6 separate regions of the Homo sapiens genome follow, and all the other regions are linked to region 1. The links are contacts of gene promoters, found by promoter capture Hi-C in blood cells and fetal thymus (Javierre and others, 2016). All regions are on one chromosome and are shown on one strand. The core of a region is centred on a gene start or on the middle of the fragment in contact, and the rest is flanking DNA. Distances in the headings are between cores, read along the strand shown. Region 1 holds the start of PPAT (phosphoribosyl pyrophosphate amidotransferase). Region 2 overlaps POLR2B (RNA polymerase II subunit B). Region 3 overlaps EXOC1 (exocyst complex component 1). Region 4 has its middle 17 kb from the start of NOA1. Region 5 overlaps POLR2B (RNA polymerase II subunit B). Region 6 has its middle 5.2 kb from the start of EXOC1.

Region 1 (3,217 bases), core at 91-2,590:
CGCGATCTCGGCTCACTGCAACCTCCGCCTCCGGGTTCAAGCGATTCTCCTACCTCAGCCTCCTGAGTAGCTGGGGATTACAGGCGCGCGCCACCACGTCCAGCTAATTTTTTGTATTTTTAGTAAGAGACGGGGTTTCGCCATGTTGGCCAGGCTGGTCTCGTACTACTGACCTCAGGTGATCCGCCCGCCTTGGCCTCCCAAAGTGCTGGGATTACAGGCGTGAGCCACCAGGCCCGGCCTCTAGACAGGTCTTTCAAAAGTTTCAATTATTAACCTTCTTAGAAAGGTCATTAACCTAACGGGCAAAGCAAGACTCAGGTTTTGACGAATCAAGACTGATTTGCTTGTATTTTGCAATAGCTATTGATTATAAATAATACTTCCAGGCACCTTTCCACCCCTTGGCCATTTCTCGTTCTCCTCTACTTTGCTCCTTCTCCCCATCCCCGAGGCAGTAAAGTTCGGGGAGGCCCGGGAGCGCCTGGGCCACGTGTGCGCCCGCGCGGCTGCCTAGAGGCGCTGCTGCAGGGAGGCGGGACAGAGTTTCGCGGCTCGCACGTGGCCGCGAGCTCACGGCCTGGGGGTCAGGGAGACCGTGAAGGGCCCGGATCCCTGTTACTCACCCTCAGCTGTCGCCATTATCCTAAGTGGGCTGAGGGCTGCGACCGCGCCGGGAAGCGAGGCAGAACTCTAGAAAAGAGGGGTGGTCAGAGAGCTTCGCTGGGCGGGGAAGGAGGCGGGGCCGCGCGACCCTGCGCCACTCTTTTCGAGCTCCGCTACAGCCGCCTAACCCGGAGGGGTATGGGCGGAGACTGAAACGCGGATATCGGACGAAACAACGCCCCACTGGCTTCCCGCCGCGCAGGCGCAGAGACGCGACCCCGCCTCCGGGCCGCCCCGCGCTGGCGCAGTGCCCGGACAGGCGAAAAGTGGCGCGCACTGGCGGCCCCTCCCCACTCTGCGGAAGCTCGCATACCCCGGCCCCTTCTCGGCTGCGGGAGCGACTCAGAAGTTGGAGCGTACCAAGTCTTGACGGCCTGGGGGAAGCATGCAGGGAAGGGCATATGAAGGCTAAATGCTCTGAAAGAGAAATGAGGTTAAGTCCGTTACTCCCATTACGCTACTGTTGGGTGCTGGAAAATAACGGAGATTTCCACGTGCAGCAAATACAGCTTTCCAGGCAGCTCTTAGGGGAAGGCTAGCTCCACCCTACAGCATCCGTGACCCCGCCCCTCAGCCGCGGGACCGCCCCTCCGCCCTCGCTCGTTGGTGGACTCGGAGGGGGAGGAGCAGGGCTGAGCTGGCCACGCCACCTAGGGACAGCGCGCGCCGCCGCAGTAGCTGGGGCCACCCTCGGGAAGGAAGAGCCTGTCGCGAGCGCGAGCTTCTGAGCTCGACGGGCCGAGCTGGCAGCTGGTTGGTGCTTACACCTTGGCCGCAGCGGCAGGTCCTTCCACGTGCTTTCGGCGGCGACATGGAGCTGGAGGAGTTGGGGATCCGAGAGGAATGTGGCGTGTTCGGGTGCATCGCCTCAGGAGAGTGGCCCACGCAGCTGGATGTACCGCATGTGATCACTCTGGGACTCGTGGGGCTGCAGCACCGGTGAGCAACAGGGTGGGGGTGGCGGGGGCGTGCGTCTCCATCTCTCGGAGCCGCTTCCCGCAGTCGGCGTTCTCATGAGCGCCCGAGGGCCCGGGAGGACCGACCTCTCCGACCTAAGCCAGTACCTGCCTGTGGCGTCGACCGGGTTGCCTAGGCGTGCACGAGGGGCACCTCGCTTCCATGAACTTTAGCCTGTCCTGCCCACCCTCCCAGCCACTTATGCCTTTTAGGGGCTCTCTCCCTCCCCGCCCCCCGGTGTGTGCACCCATCCAGAGGCTGGCCAGCTTGTAAACCGCCGGTTTGCTTGGTCTAGCTGGGTCAGGGCTCCTCCCCGACTGCAGGCGGGTTCTAGTCTCCCGGAGCCTGTGGCTGCTCCTGTAATAGGCTAGTGTGGCGTGGCGGCCAGTCCAGGTCCTTCAACACCTAAAGGTTTTCGCGCGGGGCCTCCAACCACCACAAGCTTTTGTTTGCAAGGGCAGAGCTATTGAGCAGATTATGGGTTTGAAAGTAGTTATCGCTATGGGAACTTGAGGATGCTAGACTTCAGACCCAGGGAAAGATGACTAGTTGATGTTGAGAATGACTACTGGTAGTAGATCTCACATAAATTAAATGGAAATAAGCCAACCATAGGGAACAGTGCATCTGGAAAAGATTCATTGGTAGACGTCTTGCCTAATGAATGAAAACGTTGGTAATAACATGACAAAAATTAACTCCCTTCTTCAAAAGGGGGACAGGGGAGTAGTGTCTCTATGCCAAGATCCATACACTTGATTTTGAAAAATTGGGAGATCCTTTCGAGTTAAAAAAAATTACTTTGCTTCGGTGATCTTTCCTTTTCTTACTACCTGACTTAACTGGAAGTTGATATAAATTATTACACTAGGATAAGAAAAACAAACCTGGGTTTGATATTCTTACTGAAAGTATTACAGTTTCCATAAGGCAATACAGTGGTAACAACTTACACTACAGTTAAGGAACTTGGCAATAACACGTAACAGCAAAATGGGTGCAACACGTATAAACGCATTCCAAAAGATTAGCTTTTCCTCCACCAAACTTAAATTAGAAGTATTTTTTGCTGTTTTCATTGTCCCAGGTACTTCAATTTCAGTTTCACATTTTGTGTGTTCCTTGTTTACTAAAGAGCTGAGAATGTGGGAAGCATCAAAAAGAATATTTTTAACTTGCGTAGCTCCAATCTTGGATAATTGTGGGTTGACCATAATAGATTTCTTGTTTTTTTTAAAAAAAGTTTATTGAGAAAATTAGTTACGTAATCCAAGGAGAAAGTAAACTCTTGATTATGTGGTAGTTGTGAGCAACATTAGTTTGTAACATTCTTAGAAACTATGGCCAGGCGCGGTGGCTCACGCCTGTAATCCCAGCACTTTGGGAGGCCGAGGCGGGCGGATCACGAGGTTAAGAGATCGAGACCATCCTGGCCAACATGGTGAAACCCCATCTCTGCTAAAAATACAATTAGCTGGGTGTGGTGATGCGCTCCTGTAGTCCTAGCTACTCCGGAGGCTGAGGCAGGAGAATCGCTTGAACCCGGGAGGCTTAGGTTCCAGAGAGCAGAGATCACGCCACTGCACTCCAGCCT
Region 2 (3,773 bases), core at 1,170-3,669, 570 kb before region 1:
GCCTCCACTTTGATTTGAAAACCCAGAACTGCTCTAGCTCCCCCGACAGACACACATTCCTTCCTGCCTCCATCTCTTTTAATTCAGAATATTAAGAAGTTCTCTAAGCTCTCTTATGAGCTGCTGGTTCTACCTACCTCGCAACTTGGGCGTTTTCCAAGTACTCTTCAAGATTCAGTTCAGGTGTTACCTCCTAAACAAGGACTTCTTTTCACCTTCTCAGGCTGTGCTAAGTATCTTTCTCCAGCATTTCCACAGAGCAGCAGTGCACATCTCTTATTATAACAGTTACCATGCCATGCTGTAATTATCTGTTTACATCTACAAGCATAGACTGTCAACTACTGAAGATCAGGATCACTGCATCTCCAGCATGTGGCAGAGTGCCTGGCACATCACAGGTCCCAATAACAATTCCTTGAACTGGGCCAGGCACGGTGGCTCACACCTGTGATCCCAGCACTTCGGGAGGCCGAGGCGGGCAGATCACGATGTCAGGAGATCGAGACCATCCTGGCTAACACGGCAAAACCCCGTCTCTACTAAAAATACAAAAAATTAGCCAGGCGTGGTGGCGGGCGCCTGTAGTCCCAGCTACTCGGGAGGCTGAGGCAGGAGAATGGTGTAAACCCAGAAGGCAGAGCTTGCAGTGAGCGGAGATTGCCACTGTACTCCAGCCTGGGCAAGACAGCAAGACTCTGTCTCAAAAAAAAAAAAAAAACCAATTCCTTGAACTGAATTTGCAATGTGGCATTTGTCATAACACAGCACAGGGCATAGTGAGCTACACATGAATGAATCTGTTTCCTCTGCTAGATGCTGATGAGCTCCCTGAGGGCTGAGATCAGCATCTCATTCATGTGTGTGAACTCAGTATCACAAATATCAAATATACCCAATAAATCCTTACTGAATTACAAGGAATTTAAATATTAACTTTGCTATCAGTAGCCCCTCAAAATTTCTTACAGCATCCAGATTTCTAGGAAAAAGGAGCTTGAAATTGGTGTCCGAATGCCAAATCAATCAGGTGATACTGGTATAGGCCAGTTTAAACAAGGAAAGGAGGGGGAGATCCCCCTAAAAATGGCATAAAGTACATTACAGGTTTTCAATCATCTATGAAAAGCAAATACAAAAAATTAAAATGCCCAGTGATACACTCTTTAAAAAGCTTTTCTCCATTACTCCATCTGAGAATAGCTACTGCAGTCATTATATATGCAACAGACCAACATATAGAAACCAGTGTCAGAAGTACTGTATTTTCCAACAAAGGAGGGCGATGACCATTTTTATCTCTTAGTTGGCTTCTAATGTGGAGCTTTTAAGACATAAAAATTTCACTAACATGGACTGTCTCACCCACTAAGCAGCTACTCTAATTTTTTAATTACTTTGAGTTTCTAAACTGCAAGCCAAAAATCTATCTTAGTAATACTAATAGCTAATTTAAGAAAATTTCATGTTCATAATTCAAAAGTCCCCAGTAAGTTTTTTTTTTTGTTTTTTGAGACGGAGTCTCACTCTTTTTGCCCAGGCTGGAGTGCAGTGGCATGATCTCAGCTCACTGCAACCTCCACCTCCCAGGTACAAGCGATTCTCCTGCCTCAGCCTCCCAAGTAGAGTAGCTGGGATTACAGACACCCACCACCATGCCCAGCTAATTTTTGTATCTTTAATAGAGATGGGGTTTCGCCATGTTGGCCAGGTTGGTCTCAAACTCCTGACCTCAGGTGATCCAGCCCACCTCGGCCTCCCAAAGTGCTGGGATTACAGGTGTGAGCCACCACACCCGGCACCCAGTAGTTTTACCTTTGACCAAGAAAGAAAAGCAAAATAATTTATATTCAACAAACAAAAGAATCTACTAGTCCTATAAACATGTTTCCTATTGAGCCTGTAGTCATAGTTGGCACACTTACCTGAGATACTCCAGCTCTGGCTTGATGAGCTTTCTTTTGATCACCCCAGTTTCCAGTAGCTAAAGAGTATTTTAGGCCATCAGATATGATCCGTGTTTTAATTGCCAACTCCAAGTTAAAATCCTTTCCTCGATCAATAAATTTCTGTGCATAGATCCGCACTTCTTTAAGCAAATTCTTAAACATACTGCCGAATAAAATGGTATTATTTTAAACATGTAGAGGTCTACAACATATATTCTCAACAGGAGGAATATTGCAAAAAAAAGCGTGGGGAAGGTGAGCAAAAATTGTTTGGGCAGAGTGAAAGTTGTTGCTCTTTTATGTCTAAAGCACAGATATATGTATAGTACGTGAACATACATGGCAGGGGAGCAACTACACAAAAATGTCAAAGAGGTGGGGCATGGTGGCTCACATCTGTAATCCCAGCACTTTGGGAAGCTGATGTGGGCAGATCACCTGAGGTCAGGAGTTTGAGACCAGCCTGGCCAATATGGAGAAACACCGTCTCTACTAAAAACAGAAAAATTAGCTGGGTGTGATGGCACACGCCTGTAGTCCCAGCTACTTGGGAGGCTGAGATAGGAGAACCGCTTGAACCCTGGAGGCAGAGGTTGCAGTGAGCCGAGATGGCACCATTGCACTCCAGCCTGGGCAACAAGAGTGAAATTCCATCTCAATAAACAAAAATGTTAAAAGAGGCTCCTTAGTGGGGCAATATCAAAAAAAGGTTGAAAAACACTAATCTATAACATACTAAATAACAAAACACGTGCAAGACAATGCTAATGTTATCCTTTTTGTACTGTCTACATATTTCATTTTTAAAAATAACTTTTTTCCAATTATAGAAAATATGGGAAATATACAAACATCAAGAATAAAATTAAAAACTGCACATAATACCAATACTGTGAGACAATCACTGACAGTATTTTTATATATTTATCTCCAGCTTTTGTATATATGTGTACAAAGCAGGACAAAATCCAATATTAGCCCTTAGGAAAACCAAGGCAATAATTCAGCTTTCTCAAACATCTTACAAAGCTACCAGAGGAATAAAGAAAATATATAAACACGTAATATATTGTCCTCATAAACCTGGCTTTCCTAGACATGAACCAAAACTAAATCTGAGCAAATAGCAATAAGAATGTAGCTAATTTCATAAGTACCCAACGTGGATGCCAACACAGTTTAGCCTGGCCATATGCAATGATCAATCTAAAGTGAAATAAATCTCCCTGCTTTAATGACTTCATTCTGTAATTCCTTACCCTCTAAATAAGAATGCAAGCAGCGGCCCAGCAAGATCCAATCTCTTGTTTCCATAGTGATCTCTGTCATCTAGTTCTCTTCTACCCAAAGCTGCCAGAAGTAACCTATGAACCATGTATCTTTAAAAAAAAAAAAAGAAAGAAAGAAAGAGGGAAAACACTTAGTTTTGGACTTTTTTTTGATTTATATGTTAAAAACATCATTTTTGACTCTAAGAAAAACCTTTATCTCAACTGTATCTTGATAAAGAACTTAAAACAATGAAACTTAACATACCCCAAGAAATAGGCTTTTTTGGTCTCACAAAAATCACTGACACCAACATGAGGGAGCATTTCTTTTTGTAAAACTTCCTTTGCATATTTAATTCTTTTCTCTTTAGTAACACCAGGCTTTGCTCCTCTTGAACCAATGAAATTTAGTGCAACATTCTGTTCTTGGATGACAAAAGCTTCATCGAGAGAAGGTTTAACCTATCAGACAATTTAAATAAAAGTTATTTTCAAATTCATGTTGCTACCTTAAAATGAGTAAACTGTCACTTAGTTTATAACATGCCAAGTA
Region 3 (3,675 bases), core at 931-3,430, 570 kb after region 1:
ATAGAACTTACAAAACATTTAAAACACTGAATCAAGTCCTGAGTCTCACCTCAAAATACTGAAAAATAAAACAGGTCCAATAGTAAATATCTAACAAGTTTGGACTTACTTTATAAATAAAAATATCTAAGTAGTATATGCAATTCATATGCATAGTTATTTGATTTCTAGAATCAGAGAGCATCAGCTGAAAGGAACTAGACTGTCTACCAAAAGAGGCAGCTGAGGCCCAAAGTACATCTATGAGCAAAGAGGCTCCTATTTCAAAATCTTAAAATCAAATATGTGAAGGAATTGACTGCAACCCCAATTAAACATATTAACATTTTTGTGGAAATGTAAGGTTAATACATAAATAAGCTATAGGAACATGCTCGTTTTAATAATAAAATAAAATTACCTGTTGAACAAAAACATTGTTGAGGTGACTGGCCAGTCTCCGGGCAAAAAGCTCTCGCAAATCACTGAATCGCTGCTGTTGCTGTTTGACTGCCAGAAGCAAGTCATGGCCTGACACAGAACGACATTTTGTGACCAGTTTAATGGGTAAAAAGATTTCCTTGATGTTTAATGGAACATTAAACGTATCTAACGTTTTGAAGAACCCAAAAGTTTTATGGGTGTATTCATTTACATGATAAAAGTTAAGCAGGAGAAAAATGGGATTTCACAGTAGTTCTCAAAGTGTGGTCTTGCCTCACCATCGCCTGGGAACTGTTAGAAATGTGGATTCTAAAATCTCAGCCCAGATCTGCTGAATCTGGGACTGGGGCCAGGCAATCTATGTTTTTAACAAGACCTCTAGGGATTCTGACGGACACTCAAGTTTTGAAATAATTGCTCTCGTCTAACCAAAGCACCTACTTTCTGCTGGGTTCTGTGGATAGTACTAAATAAAGATCATGGTGTTGACTATAGTCATTGAGGACAATTAGAAGGAGGAACTGAAGTAAAAAAGTTCCTAGTATCAATAGAAATAAGTTGGGAAATCAGTGAAACTTGAATAGCTAATAATGTAACCCTTAAACCACTTGTCTCATGTATTTCTTGTCAAAACCTTTATAACAAGTTACAGGCTTAGTCTCACATTCTTGGTCACATTTTTGTCATTTCTAATGAACATACCTGGTCGAAGAGCTACATTCATGCACTGCAGAAGGGCATCAGCAGCATTGGTGCAGGCCTCAATGCCTCTGGAAGAAGCAAGATCTCCTTCCTGAAGGGCCTTTATATGACCTTTGGCCAAGTCCATGTGGTTCTAGAATATATGCAAACACACCATTTGCATGTGTAATTTTGGGAAATTTACAGGCAAGATGCTATTCAGTCCTATCATTAGGTCTTTGGAATTATTTTAAATCCTGTTCTCACAAGGAAATTAAAAAATGTTTACAAATGGGTTTTATATATCATCACTAGTTTTTTTTTGTTGGTAATTTATGATCATACTTACCACAAGGAACTCTATCTCAGATAGGAGTTTTACATTATTAGTGTTACTAAGATGAATTAGGTGGTTGCTTTCAGAGATCTGATCCATTTGTTCTTTTACACTTTGGAGCATTTCCTCATAACTGCTCAGTTTCAATTCAATCTGATCTACCTCCTTTAGAGCCTCATCTAGCAATTTCATCAGGATGTTGACTTGTTTTTCAGATGCCATGATTGACTGGATGTTAGCCTACAAAGTTAAAGACCAAAACAAACAAACAAACAAACAAACAAACAAAAAACATACTTGTTATTTAGATGTGTAAAAGAATAAAGGTGAAATGTTGCTAAATTTCCTTGAAAGTAGCATAACAAAAATTGATATATACCTACACATCTACTTCAGTTTATCACTTTATGTTCTTCCATGTTTTACACAGTATTTCATGCAGGTACACTTGCCTCTAAATCAATGTTAGGGACCATGCCTTAGGATTTTATATTTCCACAGACTGCACAAGTAAGGTTCCAGAATGCACAAGTAAGGTGCCAGAAAGTATCACTGGTAATGGCACATTCTCATTTCTATACATTTAGGAGGCATTAGGCCATGTTATCTCTAACATTTCCTCCAATTCTACCAGCTAGAAATTTTCTTAACACCTATGTGAAACCCTAAATAAAAGCATAATCACCTATGTGATATCTTAGTTGAGAAAGCAGCAGTGGTATACCAGACTCTGAAGGATATATGAAACTAATTTATAACTGTAGTATGATGGGAACTAGTAACAGGATGTAGAAGAGCATACGGCCGATAGCTCCTTCTATCATCTTTTTTCTTTTCTCTTTCAACTGTTTTTTTTTTCTTCCCCAGGCAAAGCAGTAACAAACCACCATCCCCTTATCACTATTTTCTAAATGATTCTGACTATTGATTCTGAATTCCCTGAAATAAGGAAACTGCCAAATCCAAAATTAAACTGCAAAGCAATATGCTGACTTGGAACATATATACCATATTAATTAGAACAAAAAATATAAATCACTAAGCCATATTAAGAAGGCAAGTAACATGGTACGATGAAAAACCTGGACCAGAAATTTAAAGGATATCATTGTACAGCTGACGCTGTGGTTTCACACGTTATTTACATACTATCCACAGTAAATAAAATGTAAGTGCAATACGACTTTAAGAGTCAGAAGGGTTCAGAAGCCACTGACATCTCTTAAGTAACAGAGCTGGGGTTTGAATCTGCCCAGGATTTCTTCCTTAACATCTTAAAATCATTTCTAGGCTTTGCTTTCAGTGAACTCTGTAAACTTGTAAGCCTGGACTATTCATATAATCTCTCTGGGCCTGAGTCAGACCCCATAACTTCTGTACCTTTCATGTATACAACACTAAAATTTAAGTCTTTAAAATGTTCCTTATCCTCTGAGGGATTTCTTAAATGCTTACCTTTTCTTAAAACCAGAACAAACCCAAATGATTTTAGATTACTCTAGCATAAGAGATGCGGTGTGTTTGATTTTTTTGTTTTGTTCTGTTTTGTTTTGAGACAGAGTGTCACTCTGTCACCCAAGCTGGAGTGCAGTGGCACGATCTCAGTTCACGGCAACCTCTGTCTTCCAGGTTCAAGCGATTCTTGTGCCTCAGCCTCCCAAGTAGCTGGGACCACAGGAGCATGCCACCATGTCTGGCTAATTTTTTTTTTTTTAGTAGAGATGTGGTTTTGCCATGTTGGCCAGGCTCGTCTCGAATTCCTGACCTCAGGTGATCTGCTCGCCTCAGTCTCCGAAAGTGTTGAGATTACAGGTGTAAGCCACTGCCCCAGCAGGTGCTGTGCATTTGAATTACACTCAAAAACTGCACACAAAACAAAAAGGTCTATTCTAAAACATTTTAGCAAAGAAGTCACAGATCTTTTTCTCTGGCTCTCCTGTTTTCACCACACTCACTCCACTCTTCTTTGGTAAATGATTCACATATTTCAGCCACATTTCTCTCTTTATACTTCATCCCTATTTTTATTTTTTTCAAACCACACACATACACACAAATGCTATTCTTTGGCACTGAACTATTCAGACATGTTTCAGAGGCTGAGCGAATCAACTCCCAAGATGTTCTCTGGCCTAGTTTTTACTCCAGTCACTTCATATCAAGAACCTCCCCAAATCCAGAATCTCAGCCAACTGTCTTCATTGGCTTAACAGGAATAGTTCATCTTTTGAACA
Region 4 (3,395 bases), core at 870-3,369, 520 kb before region 1:
TCGGCTGGACACAGTGGCTCAACGCCTGTAATCCCAGCACTCTGGGAGGCCAAGGCAAGTGGATCACCTGAGGTCAGGAGTTAGAGACTAGCCTGGACAACATGGTGAAACCCCATCTCTACTAAAAACACAAAAATTAGCCAGGCGTGGTGGGCACCTGTAATCCCAGCTACTCGGGAGGCTGAGGCAGGAGAATTGCACGAACCCAGGAGAAGGAAGTTGCAGTGAGCCGAGATCACACCACTGCACTCCAGCCTGGGCAACAAGAGCAAAACTTCATCCCAAAAAAACTAAATAAATAAAGATTTTTAAAAAGCTATGTATTTCTAGCAACTGAGGTCTATTCTGCAACTGAGAGGACACTTTAACCATTTTATTTACATTTCATCTTTATATGACTGAATAACATTACATCAATCAGAAGTCTTTATTGGCCAGGAGCAGTGGCTCATGCCTGTAATCCCAACATTTTGGGATGCCAAGGCAGGAGGATTGCTTGAGTTTAGGAGTTCAAGACCAGCCTGGGCAACACAGCAAGACCTCATCTCTACTAAAACCCAAAAAAATTAGCCAGGTGTGGCGCTGTGTGCCTGTAATCTCAGCTACTGGAGAGGCTGAGTCAGGAGGATCACTTGAGCCTGGGATATGGAGGCTGCAGTGAGCTATGATCACATTACTGCACTCCAGCCTGGGCAACAGAGCGAGACCCTGTCTGAAAAAAGGAAAAAAGAAAAAGTCTACACCTTTTGTTATTCCTAGCTGAGTAAGTAGTACCACAGCTGTGTCATGAAGAATTGGCAAGTCAAGTCCCAGATCCTAATGTTGAAATAAATGCTGGTAAGATAAGCTAGGCTGAAACGCAGTTAGAGCCATGAAATTCCTGAGAGGACCATGTTCTGTCCCAACATATGGGAGCCCCCATGTATTTCACACTCTCCTGTCTTCTCCCCACTCCTCAGTCCTCTTCTAAGTCCTCTTAGATTAAATATAATGGAGAATTTTTTAAGATGATGCAACTTGTTGTAGACCTTTCATAGTGTTTCAAAGTGAGTACTACTGGTATCTTGGGCAAGGTGGTTCTTTCTTTATATATAAAACTGCATTTCAGCCGGGCGCGGTGGCTCACGCCTGTAATCCCAGCACTTTGGAAGACCGAGGCGGGCGGATCATGAGATCAGGAGATTGAGACCATCCTGGCCAACAAGGTGAAACCCCGTCTCTACTAAAAATACAAAAATTAGCTGACTGCGCTGGCGCGTGCCTGTAGTCCCAGCTACTCCGGAGACTGGGGCAGGAAAATCCCTGGAACCTGGTAGGCGGAAGCTGCAGTGAGCCAAGATCGCGCCACTGCAGTCCAGCCTGGGCAACAGAGCAAGACTCCGTCTCAAAAAAAAACAAAAAAACTGCATTTCATTATGTCTGGTATCTCTCATCCCAGACACTAAATGCAGTAGCAACTCCCTCTGCTGTCAGTCCTGGTGACAACTGGAAAGTGCCCCCAACATCATATTACCTCTAGAGGGCGGCAGCTTCCCAAATGGAGAAAATTGATTGGCAGTTGATTTCTAGTTTTTATTTTGGAGGGAATGAAATACCATTTATTTTATAAGTTAAAATTGTGTCTGGGTGCGGTGGCTCACACCTGTAATCCAACACTTTGGGAGGCCAAGGTGGGTGGATCACCTGAGGTCGGGAGTTCGAGAGCAGCCTGACCAACATGGAGAAACCCCATCTCTACTAAAAAAAAAATACAAAATTAGCCAGGTGTGGTGGCACATGCCTGTAATCCCAGCTACTTGGGAGGCTGAGGCAGGAGAATCGCTTGAACCCGGGAGGCAGAGGTTGCGATGAGCTAAGACCGTGCCATTGCACTCCAGCCTGGGCACAAGAGCAAAACTCCATCTCAAAAAAAAAAAAAAAAATTATGGTCATTATATTTCTACCTATGGTTGAAAACAGGAGTTCACAGTTCAGAGCTTAGGCCAGGATATTTAGGTAGAATTAAAACAAAAAACAGGCAGGAAAGAAAGCCAGCAAAGGGTGAACTGGGCCTTTGTGGAGAAACAATCTAAAAACTGACTACTATCACCCTGACAACTTAAGAAAATGTATTTCAGAAAACAGGGCTCACACCCATAATCCAAACACTTTGGGAGGCCAAGGCAGGAGGATCCCTTGAAGCCAGGCATTCAAGACCAGCCCTGGCAACATAGTTAAGACCCTGTCTCTACAAAAAAAAAAATTTAATTTAGCTGGGCATGGTGACACCCACCTGTAGTCTCAGCTATTCAGGAGGCTGAGGTGGGAAGATCCCTTGAGCCTGGGAGGTTGAGGCTGCAGTAAGCCATGATTGCACCACTGCACTCCAGCCTGGGTGACAGAGCAAGACTCCATCTCAAAAAAAAAAAAAGCAGGAAAGAAAGCCAGCAAAAAGAGTGAGAAAGATGCTCTATGCCTAGAATTAGTTGAGGACTTCTACTGGGATCTGGTATTAATTTATTCCATATTGTGCCTCCAATTTAATGCAGCCTAGGATCACTGCTAGGATCAAGTGTTTCCTAGTAGATTTTCCTTTAAGAAAGTTCCATTACTGTATTGGTGCAGTAGTGCATTGCTTAGCAACAGGGATGTGTTCTAAGAAATGCATCGTTAGGCAATTTCATCTTTGGACAAACATCATAAAGTGTATTTACACAAACCTAGATGGTATAGCCTACTCTACACCTAGGCTGTATGGTATAGCCTATGGCTCCTAGGCTACAAACCTGTACAACATGTTGCTGTACTGAATTCTGTAGGCAATTGTAACACAAATCATTAGGCAATAGGTATTTTCTGACTCCATTATAATTTTACCAGACTACGGCTGTATATGTGGCCCATTGCTGACCAAGAAGTCATTATGCGATACATGACTGTACTTCTTTATCCATTAATCTGAATATAACGACATCTTTTGAATCAGTAGTCACTTACACTATGACAGGGTACAAGAATTAGTGGGCTCTTCTGGCCAGGAACGGGAGGAGAAATTAAGGGCAAAGTACCAACTCCTCACTTCCACAGATCACAGAGGTGGTTAGGGGTTGCTAGAAAACAATGAAGCAAGTTTATTCTAGATTGTTTACCTGGCTCTGCAGCACTGTGGTGTTGAGCATGTCACCTCTTTTGTATTCATGACACCCAAAAGAAGTAAAATAAATTCCATCAAAGTACTTTTTGACTTTTATGTGATATTAGGTTCAAAGTTTTATTTTAAAAAGTTACACGTAATCCCTCTGCTTTTCCCCCCTCTAATTAAACTAAAATAACAACATCTTCTTCAAAGTTACTAAGACAAATTAAAGTTGTAATATGTTTTGTATCTTTAATCACCATAAATGCCAAGCTGTGCC
Region 5 (3,286 bases), core at 112-2,611, 550 kb before region 1:
CATGTTTCAGAAAAAAATATATATATACAAAAAGAGAAAAAGACAAAGAAATGTAGTACAGGGTAACATTTTCGGAATCTGGTTAAAATGATTAAATGAATTCTTTGTGTAACTTTTAGATCTGAAATACTTAAAATGTTAAATATATAAATAAAATAACTACTCTCATGTAGCATATTTATATAGAAGAGCTATTTATCAAGAAGAATAAGCAGGAAATCTAAAGTGCCTTTTCAGGCTAATTCAGTTTGGTCCAAAGTTACCTGATTACAATCCAGCATGCTTCTTGCCACAAATCCGGGGTGATTTCATCATCATCCTCATCATATTGCATATCTGTAAAAACAAAAATATTGTACTCATTTGCAATGAGATGCCACTTAGTTAACATCTTGCTCCTATGACTTTAAGTAGCAGAAACATATTTACTTTCTGCTGAATAAGTAATGCTTTCACCCCACTTTTCTAAAATTTCAATTACATTAATAAAATAATTTATGTCTATGTCACACAGGTATTCTTCCAATATAAAAAGAGGTTTATTAGAAAGGTTCAATGTAAGTTGTATGAATGTTAAGTTTTCCATTTTATTGATCAGCAAGATTTTCAGACACTAGAGTCAGAGAACAGGGTAAGGGGGCAGAGCCATGGAAGGATTCCAACAACTGGGCAATACCCTAAGGTGGGGCAATCTATTATAGCAACATTTCATACATGTACAGGTATGAAAGTTTGCATTTTCCAAAGATGGCCACAAGCCTATCTCCCATCCGACATGGTCTTCTATAATGTGATCTTGACACTCCTATCATCACATATAGTGGTCTATGCACCCTCTCCTTGAATCGGGTAGATTTTGACTCTCCTGTAACTTAAGAGAATGCAGCTGAAGCAATGCTGCATGACTTCAGAAGCCAGGTCAGAAAAGGCAATGAAGTTTCTGTCATGTTTGCTAAAACACTTCCTTCTGGAGCCCTGAGCTGTCATTAAAAAGTAGGGGTGGCTCAGGCCTGTAATCCTAGCACTTTGGGAGGCCAAGGTCGGTGGATCACCTGAGGTCAGGAGTTCGAGACCAGCCAGGCCAATATGGCAAAACCCTGTCTCTACTAAAAAAGACAAAAATTAGCCAGGCAGGGTGGCACATGCCTGTAATCCCAGCTACTCAGGAGGCTGAGGCAAGAGAATTGCTTGAACCCAGGAGACAGAGGTTGCAGGGCCCGCCTCTCACTCACCGCCCGAAAGTCGGGGCCGCCCCACGGGGCGGCGGGGGGGAGTGCCATCCCCGCCTCGCCACAGCACCGAGCCCGCCGCCCGTCCCTCGCGGCTACCACCGGTCCCTCGCGGCTACCGGGCACGGAATGGGCGGTCCGCCTCCTCGCAGGAGCTGAGATCGCGCCACTGCACTCCAGCCTGGGCCACAGAGCGAGACTCTGTCTCAAAAATTTAAAAAAATAAAATAAAATTTTTTTTGTAAAGACATACACTATTCTGAGGCTGCTACATACTGAGAAAGCCCGAACCATAAGTAGAGGCCACTTACAGATGCTCCATTAGCAATTTTAGTCCTTGAGTCCTCCTAAGCTAATGTCTCATGTCAGACATAGTCAATACTACAGATCATCTCTCACCCAGCTGTCAACACTTGGCCTTAATGTCTTCCCAAATGAACCAGAGTCACGGTGGAACACAGGCAAGTCATGCCTGCTATGCCCTGTCCAAAATCCTAACCCACAGTATCCATGAACATAACAAAATAATTTTTTAAGTAGCTAAATTTTAGCGTAGTTATGCAACAGTAATTTAAATATGCATTCAAAAAAAAATCAGTGTGCACTGGTCCTCTAATATTAGTCCCATCTTCTTAAGGGAAAGAATAAGTGTGCTGTATTTTTGGCTTTTATTCTAATGTACACATATATAGCCTATGAAATTCAGGAGATCTGGGTTCAAAATTTGATACATATACAAAATAAATTTTTAATAAATACTTCTTAAATGGACTGGAATTATTAATCCCTACACCTGAGGGAAGGGTAAGAAAGACAAAGCTATGTATAATAGCTCAGACATTTCTAGCTTTGATGAGAGATTAAAAGTTAACATCACTGCCATACAGGAGAAGCAAGTAAGATGGTGGAAAAAGGAGAGGTAATGATGAGATCGGCTTTAGAGATATCTATAGATCACAATACCTTCAAATACTTCTAGTAGGCACACATATATGAATATAAACTCAAATGAAGAGTCTACATTATAGACAAAGAACATGTGACACATAATAGATATACATTGGCATATAACAAATGTGTATCTATTATGTGTCAATAAAATAAACGTTTTAAAATTTGAAAAAAAAAAAGTACATAGTTGGAATCATTAACAAATGGGTGGGAGAAAAATGAGATTATACACAGACAAGGAAGGCTGAAGGCAGGATATCTGGGAACAACTTTAAAAGTCATACAAAGGAAAATGAACTCATGAAGGAGACTCATTTACTCATCCATTTATCAGATTTTTTTTCAGGCTGGGCGCACTGGCTCACACCTATAATCCCAACACTTTAGGAGGCCGAGGCAGGCAGATCACTTGAGACCAGGAGTTCGAGACCAGCCTGGCCAACATGGAGAAAACCCATCTCTACTAAAAATACAAAAATTAGCCAGGCATGGTGGCACCTGCCTGTAGTCCCAGCTACTAGGAAGGCTGAGGCAGGAGAATCGCTTGAACCCAGAAGGTGGAGGTTGCAATGAGCCGAGATCACGCCACTGCACTCCAGCCTGGGTGAGAGTGCGACCCTGTCTAAAAAAAAAAAAAAAGTGATATGAATATTCCTGACAAAGATCTGAAAAGGTTAGGGAAGACTTCCCAAAAGCTGGGCAGAGGCCAGGTGCAGTGGCTCATGTCAGTAATCCCACCACTGGAAGGCCAAGGCAGCAGGATCACTTGAACCCAGGAGTTCGAGACCAGCCTGAGCCACAAAGCGAGACCCCCGTCTCTAAAATTTTCTTTAAAAAGCTGGCCGGGCGCAGTGGCTCACGCTTGTAATCCCAGCAGTTTGGGAACCCAAGGCAGGTGGATCACAAGGCCAAGAGTTTGAGAGCAGCCTGGCCAGCATGGTGAAACCCCGTCTCTACTAAAAATACAAAAATTAGAAGGGCATGGTGGCGCATCCCTGAAATCCCAGCTACTCAGGAGGCTGAGGCGAAGAATCACTTGAACCTGGGAGGCAGAGGTTGCAGTGAGCCGATATCACACCACTGCACTCCAGCCTGGGGGACAAAGG
Region 6 (3,221 bases), core at 147-2,646, 590 kb after region 1:
CTAGCTAACACAAGCCATCCGGATGACTAAACTAAAAGAGCACCCTGTAACAAACGCTGAGCAGGGCTTCAGGAGCTGTAAACGTTCACCCCTATACGCTGCCGTGGAGTCCGAGCCCCACAACCTGCCCTTCTGCATGCTCCCCCTAGAGGTTTGAGCAGTGGGGCACTGAAGAAGTGAGTGACACCCCCATCGCATGCCCTGCGATGGGGATAAGGGAATTTTCCTGTTTCGGAATCACACAGACCAGGGGTTCAAATCTGGTCTTTACCCTTTACTGAGTCAGTGACCACAGGGCAAGTTACTTAACTCTTCAGAGCCTCAATTTTCTCATCTGTATATAAAAAATAGTAATCCCATCTTGGGCATATTTGCTAAGATGTTTCTTGTAAAGCACTTGTCTCATTGCTTGGCACACAGTATAAGCATTCAATAAATGGTAGCTGTTATTACATGCAGATTGGTTTAGTAGATTAAATTGGGCAGATTTACCTACTTGAAAAACATGTAATAGTCACCCAAGGAGGTTCTGCCCAAGGAGGTTCTGAGGTCCCGCTTCCTTTACATAGAAAGAAGGCTGTATATATTAACATGTATCACATATGAGGGAATCTCATACTTACATAGCATGAAATAACTTTTCCATTGTTAGTAAGCTCCAAGGGAAAAGTCTCTTCTAAATGGTGAAGAGTAGTAAATATTGATGATTTATAGAAGTTAATTGTTTCCTCAGAGAAATCGCTCTTGTTACTGTGCACCAGTAAAGCAGAGGCCTGAAGATTGTAAAGACTTCATGTTCTTCTCAAGACCTGAATCCATTTTGCACCTTTTGAAGGGGGAGGGAGACCATCCTTTTCCTCAGCTTGAACCCCTGAAGGAGGAAGGGCAAAAGTGCCCCACTCCCTCTAGGGCTGTCTCTGATGACATCGGTGGTAGCTCCACTGGCTTTGAGGACATTGTTTAGTGAGAAAACTCATAGATTTCATGGAAGTGGACTTTCATATTTCATATTTGGATGCCTCTTTTACTGGCATCCAAACTGTCTTTTGATATCAGTCTGATTAATTTTAATTTGGGTATAAAGCTAAGGGATCTTCAAATGTTTAAAATGTTCAAATGTTTAAAATCATGTAGATTTATATAATTTCAATTTGAAATGTGACATTTTAAACATTTGACATTTATTATGACACTTACTTTGATTTTTCTCTTCCCTATTTCTTAGCATTGTTTTCTTATAATTTAATGATGCATGTTCCTGTCTAAGAAAGGAAGAACTTTTTTTCAGAGATGTAAGACTATTAGTATCAACACAAAGAACACCAAGTAACTCTTTGTGGGGGTGGGGGGTGGACAATGAGAGTTACAATGCTGCACTTCCCAGATTCTTTATTTTCTTTTTCGTTCTGTTTTTTCTGGAGACAGTCTTGCTCTGTCACCCAGGCTGGAGTGCAATGGCGTTAGCTCACTGCAACCTCTGCCTCCCAGGTTCAAGCGATTCTTCTGCCTCAACCTCCTAAGTAGCTGGGACTACAAGCACATGCCACCATGCCTGGGTGATCTTTTGTATTTTTAGTAGAGATGGGGTTTAGTAGAGATGGGGTTTTGCCATGTTGCCCAGGCTGGTCTCAAACTCCTGGGCTCAAGTGATCTGCCCACCTAGGCCCAGATTCTTTATTTTCTAAATATCTTTAACAACTGCAGCAAGGAAGAAATGTCTCTACTGTTAAATACATAAAGCAATTGGTGTTTGTTTTAGGTTTTGTTAGAAATAGATGTAAATATCCCCACGTGATACTTTCCATTTCTTTGTAGCTTTATGGGAGGAAGTCAGGGAGTCACTAAATAAGGATGGTAATTACCTGTATCAATATTAATTAAGTAAATATTATAAATAAATATTAGTTAGATAGTAGATGCACATTTGACATCATTATTGGAAAGTAATATAATGTGACATACAAATAAATATAAGGAAGGCAAAGATTGGCTTGCAGAATCACATTGCGTCTCAATGCTTTTCTTATGCAGCTGCCTTATTTAATATACATATTGTAGAGTGATATTACAATAAAGGGCAGTCATTACAAATGCACAGTGCTGAACTCCGTATACACATTCTAGGAGATTCTCTCAGAAGTGCAGAAATCATCTCTTTTTTTTTAATTTTTTTATTTTTTATTATTATTATACTTTAAGTTTTAGGGTACATGTGCACATTGTGCAGGTTAGTTACATATGTATACATGTGCCATGCTGGTGTGCTGCACCCACTAACTAGTCATTTAACTTTAGGTATATCTCCTAATGCTCTCCCTCCCCCCTCCCCCCACCCCACAACAGTCCCCAGAGTGTGATGTTCCCCTTCCTGTGTCCATGTGTTCTCATTGTTCAATTCCCATCTATGAGTGAGAACATGCGGTGTTTGGTTTTTTGTCCTTGAGATAGTTTACTCAGAATGATGATTTCCAATTTCATCCATGTCCCTACAAAGGACATGAACTCATCATTTTGTATGGCTGCATAGTATTCCATGGTGTATATGTGCCACATTTTCTTAATCCAGTCTATCATTGTTGGACATTTGGGTTGGTTCCAAGTCTTTGCTATTGGGAATAGTGCCGCAATAAACATACGTGTGCATGTGTCTTTATAGCAGCATGATTTATAGTCCTTTGGGTATATACCCAGTAATGGGATGGCTGGGTCAAATGGTATTTCTAGTTCTAGATCCCTGAGGAATCGCCACACTGACTTCCACAATGGTTGAACTAGTTTACAGTCCCACCAACAGTGTAAAAGTGTTCCTATTTCTCCACATCCTCTCCAGCACCTGTTGTTTCCTGACTTTTTAATGATTGCCATTCTAACTGGTGTGAGATGGTATCTCATTGTGGTTTTGATTTGCATTTCTCTGATGGCCAGTGATGGTGAGCATTTTTTCATGTGTTTTTTGGCTGCATAAATGTCTTCTTTTGAGAGGTGTCTGTTCATGTCCTTCGCCCACTTTTTGATGGGGTTGTTTGTTTTTTTCTTGTAAATTTGTTTGAGTTCATTGTAGATTCTGGATATTAGCCCTTTGTCAGATGAGTAGGTCGTGAAAATTTTCTCCCATTTTGTAGGTTGCCTGTTCACTCTGATGGTAGTTTCTTTTGCTGTGCAGAAGCTCTTTAGTTTAATTAGATCCCATTTGTCAATTTTGGCTTTTGTTGCCATTGCTT

The links. Contacts are between HindIII fragments. The CHiCAGO score rates a contact against its expected background, and 5 or more counts as called.
Region 2: a fragment that was not itself captured here is called in contact with the fragment with the promoter of PPAT in region 1 in 5 of 17 cell types (naive CD4 T cells, naive CD8 T cells, fetal thymus and 2 more); the score reaches 7.5 in naive CD4 T cells.
Region 3: a fragment that was not itself captured here is called in contact with the fragment with the promoter of PPAT in region 1 in 1 of 17 cell types (neutrophils); the score reaches 6.7 in neutrophils.
Region 4: a contact is called between a fragment that was not itself captured here and the fragment with the promoter of PPAT in region 1, in 6 of 17 cell types (total CD4 T cells, total B cells, monocytes and 3 more). The highest score is 7.2, in total CD4 T cells.
Region 5: a fragment that was not itself captured here is called in contact with the fragment with the promoter of PPAT in region 1 in 2 of 17 cell types (non-activated CD4 T cells and total B cells); the score reaches 6.8 in non-activated CD4 T cells.
Region 6: a contact is called between a fragment that was not itself captured here and the fragment with the promoter of PPAT in region 1, in 1 of 17 cell types (non-activated CD4 T cells). The highest score is 5.3, in non-activated CD4 T cells.

Annotation. Positions count from the first base shown.
Region 1 is chr4:56,433,738-56,436,954 of GRCh38, reverse strand. It overlaps PPAT (phosphoribosyl pyrophosphate amidotransferase), which reads left to right and starts at 1,340. Exons shown (of 11, transcript NM_002703.5): 1 at 1,340-1,605. The coding sequence starts at 1,478. PAICS (phosphoribosylaminoimidazole carboxylase and phosphoribosylaminoimidazolesuccinocarboxamide synthase) reads right to left here and starts at 695. Exons shown (of 9, transcript NM_001079524.2): 1 at 627-695. The coding sequence starts at 642. RefSeq lists enhancers at 1-608, 1,456-1,635 and silencers at 736-1,025, 1,166-1,365. The HindIII fragment of the contact is 7,763 bases long and covers 1-2,067 here.
Region 2 is chr4:57,005,155-57,008,927 of GRCh38, reverse strand. POLR2B (RNA polymerase II subunit B) reads right to left here. Exons shown (of 25, transcript NM_000938.3): 8 at 3,486-3,682; 9 at 3,209-3,328; 10 at 1,926-2,112. Among named protein-coding and RNA genes, the nearest start is that of POLR2B, 28 kb to the right of the region's middle. The HindIII fragment of the contact is 2,486 bases long and covers 1,177-3,662 here.
Region 3 is chr4:55,868,684-55,872,358 of GRCh38, reverse strand. It overlaps EXOC1 (exocyst complex component 1), which reads right to left. Exons shown (of 19, transcript NM_001024924.2): 6 at 1,454-1,681; 7 at 1,126-1,258; 8 at 401-510. Among named protein-coding and RNA genes, the nearest start is that of EXOC1, 17 kb to the right of the region's middle. The HindIII fragment of the contact is 5,306 bases long and covers 1-3,675 here.
Region 4 is chr4:56,958,543-56,961,937 of GRCh38, reverse strand. No RefSeq gene overlaps it. Among named protein-coding and RNA genes, the nearest start is that of NOA1, 17 kb to the left of the region's middle. The HindIII fragment of the contact is 9,798 bases long and covers 1-3,395 here.
Region 5 is chr4:56,983,404-56,986,689 of GRCh38, reverse strand. It overlaps POLR2B (RNA polymerase II subunit B), which reads right to left. Exons shown (of 25, transcript NM_000938.3): 2 at 264-336. Among named protein-coding and RNA genes, the nearest start is that of POLR2B, 6.2 kb to the right of the region's middle. The HindIII fragment of the contact is 5,960 bases long and covers 1-3,286 here.
Region 6 is chr4:55,846,848-55,850,068 of GRCh38, reverse strand. No RefSeq gene overlaps it. Among named protein-coding and RNA genes, the nearest start is that of EXOC1, 5.2 kb to the left of the region's middle. The HindIII fragment of the contact is 6,305 bases long and covers 1-3,221 here.